Regions from separate parts of the Homo sapiens genome. Here region 2 is linked to region 1. The links are contacts of gene promoters, found by promoter capture Hi-C in human tissues and cell types (Jung and others, 2019). All regions are on one chromosome and are shown on one strand. Each heading gives the region's core, a stretch centred on a gene start or on the middle of the fragment in contact. The rest is flanking DNA. Distances are from core to core; before and after follow the strand shown.

Region 1 (6,266 bases), core at 2,609-5,108:
TGCTACATCTTATCACTTGAATGAAGCCGGGTGGTCTCAACCTCCCTAGGTTGATACTGATATCCCCTCAGTCACTGTGACTTGGAGACTAACATAGTTTACCACACCACTTCCTTATTTGGAGAGCTATCTTTATAAAAATGACTTTGCCAAGGTGATTACTGAACCAAAAGCAATATTATTTTGTTAAATTCTACACTTATGCTTAAGGTATTTATCAAATCTTTAAAATGGCTCACCCGTGCATGCCGTTATCACAATGTGAACAAAGATATATGAGTGAACAGCTCTTCCCAAAGCAAAATCTCTGCAAGCCACCAACTGCTGAATCCAGAGCACCTTGCAATGCCTATTCCATAGCATCCAACTCTTTTTAGGGAGAGTGAGGCAAGGAAGGCTTTAGAACTCACCACCCTCCTAGTCAATACAGTTGCTGATGGAAGCACAAATGTCCCTAAACTCTCTGGGTGTTCTACTAGTCCTGTGACCAGAAAAAGCCTCTTGCCCAAATTGCTTTTTCTAAACATCAAAGTAACAAAAGGGTGACCCAAGGTTACCCTAAACACATTCCTGCCCCCTTCAGATCTTATCTGTTGCCCTGTGGTCTCTGCTGCAGGAGGCCACCTCCTGGGTGGCCCTAGGCCCATTGCCACTCTTTTTCTACCCTGGGCGGTTCCAAACAAACTCAGGAAGCCTTAAACAAGAGGCAGATGGTGAGGAAGAGAAAGTCTGTAAGTAACACCTCTCTATTACATAATGCTAAGCTCACAACCTCCTAGAATCAGCCTTGAAAATACCTAATGGCCTTTCACTTCAGAGTAAACATGCACTTGAAATAGGCAAAGAGAGGATTATAATTATTTTATTTGATGACCAGTGTACAACCATGTTAGTAAATACCATATCAACATATTAGTAGTACATTACAGGTGGGGGTAGGACCATATATTAGTAAATTACAGGTTGGAATAGTAAATATACAGGTTGTAAATTACAGGTTGTTGATTCAATCAATACTCTTGTGACATCCAATACCCACCAAGCACTGAGCTAGGTCCCATAGGACACACTTTCTAACCTCACCTAGACCAGATCCCTGTGGAAGTCACTAGTGCTACTCACCCATATCCACTTCTCCCTTTTTCAGCACAAGAAATATTGAATTGTGATTAAATAGGGTCATATGCCCAGTTCTGGCCAAAGTGATGGAACTCACCTCTGGGTAGGATCACATAATTGCTAGAGCAAGACCCTGCAGCATTTCCTTCCCGATGCTGCAATGATCTTGCAAGCTCACATCAAGACCAAGACTCCATCAGTTTGAGTCCTTGAGTGACTACGATGAGCAGGGTCCACCTGCCAACCACACTGGATGCAGCATGGGAAGGAAAGAAACTGTATTTAGCTATGGAGACTTGGAGGTATTTGTTACTGCAGCATAACCTCACCTATCTTGCTGGTACGTCACTGTTTAAAAAAGAGAAAAATCTGCAAAAGCATCCCATCAATCTGTTTTCTAAATCAGATAATATGGAAAAGCAACATTTGTTTCAAAATTCAACTTCATCAGGAACTGAACACTACCTTGAAAAGCAGAGGGTGCTGACAGCATAGGTGGGTTCAAACAACTCTGAGGGAATTAGAAATGAAAACAGAATGACCCTCAACAATGTAAGGACCGAACTGTATGGAATTCAGCTAAAAAGACTACAATGAAAATGCCACCTTCTGACAACAGCAACAGCCATTTATGAAGCAGTGAGCTCCTCAATGAAAGAGGCATTAAAGTTGAGGCTGGATGACCATATTTTCTCTCCCCAGAAGTCCAATCCTACCTCTCTTGAGCTTCCATTGAAGTTAATTAGAATCAGGTCTTCCTATAGGGAGTTCAATTTTGTGTCTCCCCCTACACCCAACCCCAACCCCTTGAGTCCATTATCTATCACAGAGTCCATTATCTATCAGGTGCCAATAAACATCTGCTAAATGAATAAATGAGCATTGTAGAAAGGAAGCAGGCATTGGAGGCAGAGATCAGCCTAATAGCCTCTAGGGATCCTCCAGCCTAAAGCTAAACACATCTGAGGGTGGGGAGCCTCCTTCTTATATAAAAAAAATTAAGCATCAATGGACACTTTATTATGATTTATTACTGTACACAATTTAAAACCACAATGAAACCTAACACTGCACTGTGGCTATCTTTGTTCTTGGACGTGCATTTACATGGGCAGGCTACTGTTTTGCCATGTGGAATTTTGTGTGCGAAGTGTTTATTCTTTCTATTAAAAAAAAAACCACACCCTTGTTTCTATTGCATTATTACATTCCCTATTATCCCATCACATGTTTTTTCTTCTTGCAGCAACACAGTACACACCCTGTACTATTGCTGACATAAAAATTACTTGTCAAAAATACCTCTATCTTAGCACCACATTACTCATCTGATCTTTGCAAAGCACTGGCCTTTGTTTCACCTGGGACTAGATAACTCAACTGCTTTTACTAGTGACTCCTGAATGCTTGTAGTAGAAGGATAAATGCTAGTGTCACCTATGTTTTTAAAGTCACCTTCCAAAACAAAACTACATTGGAGGTGAATAATAAATCTTTCAAGTTTTTAACTTCATTTTTCAAGGGATTTGGAGGAAAATGGTGAAGAGAGAATCTGTCACAGATACCAAGGTGTTACTGCAATGTAAAAGAGAGTAGACCAGGAGCCTTTGGCCCTCAGCAATCTGTCTTCCTACAAGAAAAATCGAAAGCCCATTTCCATAACCATTCTTATTCCCTGCTACTAGTGTAGGATGCGCAGGACTCTGCCCTCTAGCAGAAAATGCTAATGCCGGAGTGTCCTGCTAAGTCTGAAGGTTACGTTTTTTCATTGCACTCTTATCAAGATAACCCCAGATCTGGCTAGGCTGACATCAAAACAGAACTATCCTTGGAAAGAAAAGAACAGGCCAGAGTTTTTGGAAAAGCCCCAATAACCTAAAGATAAAATCCAGAATGAGAGTCTACTGGTTCATGGCTATCTAAATGGAAACTTCACTCAAGCTGTTTTCTCTGTTCTCTTTCTGCTGCCCCCAACAGCCCTCCCTTCCACCTCCCAGTACTCACTGCTAGCATGTCTCTCTTAATATTGCAAACACTATTACAATGAAGGAACAGAAGAAAGACAGTATTTCATACGAAGGTCACTGCATTTGACCGGTGCTCAATTAGAGCACTGGGCAAAAGTACAATCAGCCTTCCAATGATACCTTTTCAACAAAGGATACCCCACCTCTAGACTGAAGCCTAAATCTATTACTACAGATAAGAAAGCAGGCATCTATGGAAACCTAACATTCAGATACAACTGCCTGTGTATGAATTATATCAAAATTCCCATGAAAGGAAACCAGGTGGGATTTCTACAATCCCAAATTCACCCTGCACCTACCTCCAATGGCTTCTTCAAAGGGAAGGTATAAAGTCATTTGCAATTTATTTCTTTGAACCAGGAGTTTTAGCAGCCCCCACACCTTCTCACAGATAGGAACGATGTTGATGCAGAAACCACCCAAACAGCCCTGTGCCAGCACTGTCGGCCCAAATGACCCAGAGACACCCAGGCGCTACCCAGATCGTGGGGGGTTACCTGTATCTGTCACCGAGTCTCTTTCACCCCTTCTGCGTGATGACATCAAGTGGAAATGGTACACGTTTAGGAGGCAAGAGGCTGACAGGCAGGAAACACAATTGAGACTGAGCTTTCTTCAGCCTGCAGTGAAATACATGCAGGAAGGGTTAGATACGCGCCGCGGAGAAGGAAATCCAAGCGCCCTCCTGGGCAGACGGGGCTGGAGCGGGTGCACTAGGGAGGTGGAGCAAGGCAGATGAGGTGTGGAGGGCTGGCGGCCGAGAAGGGGGCGTCACGGCTCCTAATTGTCTCTACAGGATAAATAACCACCTCCCCCCTCCTCCGCAGTCTCCCCCGCCCACGAGTTCCCCTCTGGTGGCAGAGCGCCTACTAGCAACAGTAAGCCCTAGGAAAGAAAGAAATCGGAGCAGGTGGGGAATAACATCTTGGGGCAAAGACACACTGGCAAAATCTACCAGGTAACCCGGTCATATGGGAATGCGGGGCGCCTAGTCAGCCGCGCAGACAGGCACACAGCGCGGCAATCCCGAGCATCTTTCTTTCGTTTGCCCCTGTCCGCCACCTCATCAAGTCACCGCCACCTCATCAAGTCACCGTCACCTCATCAAGTCACCGTCACTCTGCTTTGGCGATTTCTCTACTCTCTCCAGACCCAGGCAGCGCTCCCCAAGCCATGCCCCGACCCCAGGCGGGATTGGGGACCGCCGCTTCCCGAGCAGCGCCCCACGAGTCCAGCTGGCTTTGTCCTGCCGCTGTCCTTCCAGGAGCAAGCGCCCCAGGCGCGTGTGTCTGCACAAAAGACCCCCAACATCTGGCCCTTCACAGCGCTCTCTAATCCCGGGAGGGGCCCTGGGGCAACTTCTAGGGCTGGAGAAGGCGCGAGACAAGGGGACCGGGAGAAGATGAGCCGGGGTGTGTGCGGGCCGGGGGCGCAACTGGGGCGGGCGCGCGCGCACGTGCACACCCAGGGGCGCGCGCGGCGCGGGCACGAGGAAAGCTCCCTCGGACCGGAGCTCCAGGGGGCATCCGAGGACTCGGCCGAGCAGCCGACAGCGCCGCTCCCCGCCGCGGCCGCCCGCCCAACTCCGCCAGCTCTCAGGAGACACGCAACTCCCGGGACCACCTCCCCCGTGCCCCGCCAGACCCCGCGCTCCCCTCCCCGGGACCCTGCGGCCCCGCCACCCCCTCCGCGGTCCAGAAGATCTCCCCAGTTACAGCAGGCGGCAGCTGCCCTTTCCCGCTTCCACGGCTTCGGCGCGGCCGCCGTAGGGGCGCAGACATCCCTGCGCACCCCTCTGTCCGCCCCCGATCCGGAGCCGGCAGAGCAGAGAAACAAACCGAAACTCACTGACCTTTCTCCGCGGCGGGCTCGGGTGCTCGCTACAGAGGCGGCGGCGGCGGCGACAGCATCGCCGGGTGGTCCCGGCGCGCCCGCTCCTTTCAGCCAGACTCGCGCCCCGGGCCGGCGGCCGCCGCTCCTCCGGCCGAGAGCCACGGGGCGGACGCTGACAGCGCGGCGGCGGCGCCTGCAGCCCCAGCACCCGGCCCGGCCCTTCGGGCGGCACCCCCACCTGCCCGGCCGCCCTCCGCGTTCGCGGTCGGACACCGCCGCCAGGCGCTCGGCACCGAGCGAGAGCTTTTTGTGTCACTGAGACTCCGGCACCAAAGGGGGTGGGGGGAGAGGCTGGGCTCCGCTCCCCGCGGCACCGCCCTCCCCGGCGGCTCCACCCCCTCCTCCCCGCCCACAGCCCGGCGGGCCCGGGACTTCTCTCCGTCAGTCCCGAATCGCCCACCTCCCCCGGGGTGAGGGGCTGCCTACCCTCTCTCGCGCGCTCCCTCGGCTTTGCCCCCAGTGCCTACCCTCGGCCAGGACCTCGACGCCGTCTCTCTACCGTGCAAAAGCGGGACCTGAGCTGGCGGCAGGTGTGAAAGGAGGCCTGGGCAGCCGGGAGGAGGGGCAGGGCCGGGAAGGGGGCCGGGGCCGCGGTGGGTGGGTTGGGGGGTGCCCAGTCTGTGCCTAGGACCCGGACAGCGAGAGGGAGGAGCTGAGATCATCAGGTTTCCAGAAGCTGCCCTGCATCCTCGTCACCGGATACTTTTTGGCTGCCCCTAAAAGTTCACGTAGTCCAGCCAGGGTGGGGCCCCGCTTTCCAAAGAGGCCCGAATGGACACCCCACTACTTGAATCCCTCGAATGGGGGACAAGAAGCAGGGGAGTAAAGAGATGCAAGTCCTAGGGGTTATATGGAAGCGCGAACCCCACGGAACCTCGGGGCCCACCCTATTCCACACCTTAAAACCTAACTTCGACCTAGGGAGGTGCTTAGAATGTCTTGTTCCCCGGAGAAAATCTCCCGCCTCTTGAGTTAACTGCGAAATAGGAGAATGGAGGAGAAAGGTCCTTGGTAGAAGATAGTTCCATGCCCTTTGGTGCCTTTTTAAAGGATTTCTCTGCAGCATGAAAACCTAAAACTCTCTTCTTGAGATGAAGTTCAGCCTGCGGACGTTACCCGGTCCCCAGCAGCAGGGCTCAGTTGAGTGTGATCCCCACGGATTCCAGCGGCACTTGCTGCCTTTCCCCACTGCTGGAGTGGAGCCGTCTTTGTCTTAAGGTCCGT
Region 2 (5,928 bases), core at 69-2,568, 150 kb after region 1:
GTGTACCCAAGGAAATGAATAAGAGACACATCTCAAAGGTTCTTTTTGTTTCTTTATAGAATGAATATTAAGTACTTTTCATGAGTTTACCCAAGAGTAATAATAATTCTAGATTTTAGCCCTGTGAGGCCAATTAAAGATAATTTTGATTATTAATGTTTCCTTCTCATTTTTTTTTTAAATAACAAAGCATCATAAAGAAATCCCAGTCAAAAAAAAATGCTGCTGCCTGGAAAACATAGTGAAACCCTGTCTCCATCAAAAAATATTTTAAAATTAGCTAGGTGTGGGGGCATGTGCCTGTAGTCTCAGCTACTCAGGAGGCTGAGGTGGCAGGATCACTTGAGCCCAGGAGGCAGAGGTTGCAGTGAGCTGAGATGGTGCCACTGCATTCTAGCCTGAACAAGAGTGAGACCCTGTCTCAAAACAAAAACGAAAAAAAAAAAAACAAAAAACCATGCTTATACAGAAATGGGAAAATGCTACAAAGATATTGCCATAGTACTGAAAGCACACAGCATAACAATCATTAATGCTTTGAAGCATTTTAAAAACAGTAAGGGGAATGTCAACATAAAAAAGAACAACTACGAAAAGGTGAGAAATGATCAAGTTATCTCTGGTCTCTTAAAAGAAGGAGTTCTCAGAACTGGTCTGAAGGGGGTCTTCTCCAAATGACAGAGTTGATTAGCTCCATTCTCTTCAGCCCCCTGACATGATGGCATCTAGTGTGAATATGGGAGCTCACCAGGTTCTCCCAAGGACAGGGTGGCCCTGCAACAGCTACGCCTGTCCTAGAGACCATACCCACGCAATCTCCTTCATTCCCTCTAGGCCAGCTTCATCAGAAATCATGTTTTTAATGGCACAGTTATATGTCAAAAAGGAGGAGAAAAGGAGCCCCTAGTCCACCAAAACAAGTGTAAAAAGGTCGCAGGAGGGGAGGAGGATTGACACTGATGTTCTTAATATCTGAGTTGGCTGAAATTTGTAATAAGTTTTTCATGAGAAACCATATTATAATGGATGAAGAGCTTTTCTAATTCAGCTCTATCATTAATAAATAATTATAAAGACATTACTATGAAAATATACAATCATTTATAACATTATTTTCCTAAAAAATAAAAAAGCATTTTGTATTCTAAATACTGTACACTAAGTATAATAATTAACATATTGGAAAATGACAGACAAGCTGCAGCGGTTTCCTAAAGCCTTAGGATTCCCTCTAAGGTTTATTCATGGGCCCTCTAAGATGATAGCATGGCCTTTTTTTGGTTCAATATTTTCACAACTTGTTCTGCCTATTTTAATTCTTATAACAATTCCTAATTTAAACATTGTTAATCAGCAAATGTCCTAAGTCTTGATTCAGAAATCTATGGCATAGGTAGAATGAAAAAATAAATACCTTAAATAGAAATACTTTTTCCCTAACTCGTTTCTTTTTTCTGTTTTGCAACATAAAAATATACATTTCAAAACATTTAAAGATATCTGGGAAACTGCAACAGAAAAGGCTTGTTCCCATGTGAGTCTGAAGGGGCCAGTTACGGTGCAGCAAGGCGAGCCTGTGGCTGCAGGCACACAACACAAACTCCACAAACTCTATGATACTGTCAGAAGGAAGTTCAACCTATTCTACAGACTCACACTGACCTGAAAGGACAAAATTAAGAAAAAGATATGCCTCAAAGAGCAAAATAAAGAAAGATAAAAAAACTGAGCACCCTTTACAATGTTGTAATAAAATATTTATTAATTTCTCTTTATAAAAATTTGGGAAAAGATAAAAGGCAAAACTACACATAGAAAAAGGTCAGTGATAAGTGTTTATACAGTCAGTTTTTTCTGATGTGTGAAAAAAACTGATAAAAAAATCCTTTGAGGTAATATGAAAGTTCATGATTCTCATTCCATCAACATCACTGTTTGCTACCATAGCTTCTTAGTTGTCCAGCTAGATTTTATGCTATGAACTGATGCATGAGATTTCATAAAACATTAATACCTCTTTTTTATACTACAGTTCTTTCACTGGTATACCATAAAGTAGTATTACAAATAAATTATGACTATACTTCATCATAAATAGAAATTAAGAAAGTACACTTTGCCAAACTGATTTCTGACTTTTAAATTGTATTTATTCACTCCCCACCAATTTGAAAAATCTTGTAAATTACAGAGGGTTTCCTAGTCATTAACATGAATTAGTAATGCTATAACTTAATTCAAAAGCAATTACTTCTTAAAAATAGGGCGCATACCAGGAAAGCTTAGCATCAGCCAAAGCTACTAGCACACCACGGGCAAAAGGCCAACTCTGCAGGGATATGTAAAGGTCATTTTATGGATAATCCATATAAAAACTGCTCTCAAGATATTTTGCCCATTAGAATTTGTTTACAAATGGAAATCTAATTTGATGATTTTAGGCCTTTGTGCTAGAATCTCACAACCAGAAAGAATAACACCTTTAATATGAATTCTTATGATATTGTCAGAAAGTTTAACAGGAGTTATTTTAACTCCTGTTAAAATAATAGATGACAGTAAAAAGAAATTCAAAGGGAAAGAAACAATATACGAAAAAGCTATGGGGTAACAGATGTTGAGCCTACAATTAAAAACTATTTATTTTAAATGTTTTCCTATGTATAAGACAGAAATACCAAGCACTTTCTACTTTTGTGTTGTCAGAAATCCCAGGAAAATCCAGAAATGAAAAAAAAAAAGTGAAGGATAGACATGCATCACATGCATCTAGCTGGTTGACTGAGAAAACCTGAGAAATAGCACTAAAAAGGATAAGATAGCATTATTGCATACTAAAGAAATATGACAAATACCTGCAAACACTTTTTTTATTGAAGCTCTTGAAATAATACACCCTGACTGTCTAACAAAACCAGTGCTGAAAGCTGATAAATATTGACGGTGGCACCTGGTGATTTCCTTCCAGCTCAGCCACAGCAATGACTCTGGATGCCATCAGCACTGCCCCCACAGGCATATGCTCTCCTCTGGGTATGTGGGAAGTTGTGCGACTGGGGACCAGATTGCTGCAGGTGCTCTCAACATCACTGGGAAGAGCTGCCAGCCAAAGGAAAAAAATGAAAAAGGAGAATGCCTTCCTATGCTTTTCCACAGATATAATCACTATTTCATGCCTGCAAAACCTAGAAAAAAAAAGAAGCTCCTTTGTTCCAGATAACCTGTCAATTCGGAATTCCAAATACCATTTTCCTTACAGGAGTAGAATATACTATATATCCATATCCATCTTCTTATTGAAGCCTTGATGAGATTTTAGCTTAAAAGGAGAATCAGGATCCAGATGCTGAATGGTGCTTCAGCAACCTCACATGAAGTGACTTTTGGGTTTGCCACATAGTCTGAGTTTCTTCGTTGTGAGCAGCTGGGCCAGGCCATTGAGGAACACCAAAAAGATGGTCATGGACATGACAATCACATAGTGGCTGATGCTGCAAAAGGAGAAAAAGATGTTACAGGCAGAGAGAACACAGGTGAGGAAAATCATGAGATTCCTCTGAATGGTTTTAAATGGACAGATGAAAATCTCCACTTTCAGGAGCTGGAGTGGGTGTTCTTTACCTTATTCCTCCTGCTAAGTACAGCTGTCTGTTGGTATCTGGTTCCAGGACCTTCAAGTACAGCTGTCCATGGACTGGTTCCAGGACCTTCCACGAATACCCAAATCTTTGAATGCTCAAGTCCCTGATATAAAATGGTGCCGTATTTGCATATAAGCTATGTATATCCTCCTGTATACTTCAGACCAGGGGTCCCCAAACCTCAGGCAGTGGACTGGTACCAGTCTGTGGCCTGTTAGGAACTGGCTGCAAAGCAGGAGGTGAGTGGTGGACCAGTGACCATTACTGCCCGAGCTCCGCCTCCTGTCAGATCAGCGGCAGCATTAGATTCTCAGAGGAGCACGAACCCTGTCGTGAACTGTGCTTGCAAGGGATCTAGGTTGTGCACTTCTTATGAGAATCTAACGAATGCCTGATGATCTGAGGTGGAACAGTTTCATCCCGAAACCATCCCTCACCCCCACATACACAGCGGCGTGTGGAAAAATTGTCTTCCATGAAACTACTCCCTTATGCCAAAAAGGTTGGGGACTGCTTCTTTAGATCATCTCTAGATTATTTACAATACCTAATAAAATGTAAATGCCATGTAAATAATTGTTACACTATATTGTTTAGGGAATAATAGAAAGAATAGAAAGTCTGTACATGTTCAGTACAGATGCAATTAAAAAAATATTTTCAACCTATAGCTGGCTGAATCCATGATGTGGAACCCAAGGATACAGAGGGCTGACTATACAACTAAAAATGTTGGACACTATAAACAAACGTAAGACGACTCCAGGTGGTGGAAAGAGGGCAAACTGGTCAGTGATCTTGGGACCCAAAGAATTTCCTGAATTTTCTTTTGCAGGAAGACAGCAGCAACCTGGAAATGCCACTGGGCACAGACCAAAAAGAAATCCCCAAAAAACAATAATACCACCACCACAAGAGCCTATGCTCGCAGCTAAGGGACAGACAAGGAAAGGGGCAGCCAGAAAGACAGAAAATGTTTAGATATTAACTGATCTACTTCAGCCAAACACCACAGAAAAAATGTGGCTCCACCCCTACCTATTCCAGCATAGGCTGAGTGGGGAGCCCAGACTTCCATCCTCACCAGGCTATAATGGGGCACTCTAACTCCCCGGCTATGCCCTCCCCTCCACTGTCATGGTGTCAGGGAAGGCTGAGGAGGGAAGCTGGTACTTCTGTCCATACCTGGAGGATGTCAGTGGACATCACGTGGGGAGCCTAGACTTCCACCTCCATGAAGCAGTAATGAGGTCCCTCCCCCTCTTCAATGGGGTCATGTCAGAGGAGGCCTAGTGGAGAGCCAGGAATTCCACCTCCACTCAGAGGTAGAAAGGCCATTCCTTTCCTGACCATGTTATTAGTGGAGGTTGCATGGGAGGCAAAGGGGACCTCTGTCTTTCCCAGTCATGAAGGCAGTAGTGGAGGCCTTGCAGGGTGCCGTAACGCTGGTCCCTGGCAGGCAGCAGTAAGGAGCTCCCTCTCGGGTGCCAATGGAGGCTGCAAGGGGAACCTGGATTTCTAACCTCATCAGGCAGAAATGAGGTAGTGTCCCCTCTTCCCCTGCCATAGGAATGTCAGAAGCCAGTTAAAACAGGTTTAAATAAGACTGAGAATCTCATAACCAAATACCCAAAATGTCTAGGTTTCAAAAGAAAATCACTCACCACATCAAGAACCAGGAAGATCTCAAGCAGAATGAAAAAAGACAATTAACTGATATCAAAACCTAAATAACAGAGCTGTTAGAATTATCTGGCAAAAATTTTAAAGTGGTCATTATAAAAATACTTTAATGAGCAATTATGTACATACTAGAAACAAACACACAAAAAAACAGAAAATCTGAGCTAAGAAATAGGAATTCTCAGCAAAGAAGATGTAAATAAGAAGCAAATAAAGAAGTCTAGAACTAAAAAATGCAATAACCAAAATAAAAATTTCCATGGAAGTGCTCAATAGCAGAACTGAGGGGGCACAGGAAAGGATCCATGAACCTGAGGATAAAACAACAGAATTTACCCAGCCTGAAAAACAAAAATAGATGTTAAAAAAAAATGAACAGAGTCTCAGGGACCTGTGGACTGTGACAAAAGATCTAACATTTGTGTCACTGGACTTCTAGAAGGAAAAGAAAAAGAGGCTAAAAGAGTACTCACAGGAATAGTGGCTGAAAAGTTTCCAAATTTGGCAAAAGACATAAATCTTACAGAAGCTAAGCAAACCTCAAATAAGGTAAACCCAAAGCAATCCACACAAAGACACATCAAATTACTAAAAACTAAAAACA

Evidence for each region. The method cuts DNA at HindIII sites, captures the fragments that hold promoters and counts their contacts. A contact is called where the count stands out against the background at its distance.
Region 2: a fragment that was not itself captured here is called in contact with the fragment with the promoter of RNF152 in region 1 in 2 of the 25 tissues and cell types used here (aorta and liver).

Annotation. Positions count from the first base shown.
Region 1 is chr18:61,889,149-61,895,414 of GRCh38, forward strand. RNF152 (ring finger protein 152) reads right to left here and starts at 3,859. Exons shown (of 2, transcript NM_173557.3): 1 at 3,647-3,859. It overlaps LOC105372159 (a long non-coding RNA gene), which reads left to right and starts at 5,405. Exons shown (of 3, transcript XR_935562.3): 1 at 5,405-5,572. RefSeq lists silencers at 5,045-5,194, 5,265-5,414. The HindIII fragment of the contact is 14,100 bases long and covers 1-6,266 here.
Region 2 is chr18:62,042,489-62,048,416 of GRCh38, forward strand. It overlaps PIGN (phosphatidylinositol glycan anchor biosynthesis class N), which reads right to left. Exons shown (of 31, transcript NM_176787.5): 31 at 1-3,491. The coding sequence ends at 3,368. Among named protein-coding and RNA genes, the nearest start is that of PIGN, 140 kb to the right of the region's middle. The HindIII fragment of the contact is 8,228 bases long and covers 1-5,432 here.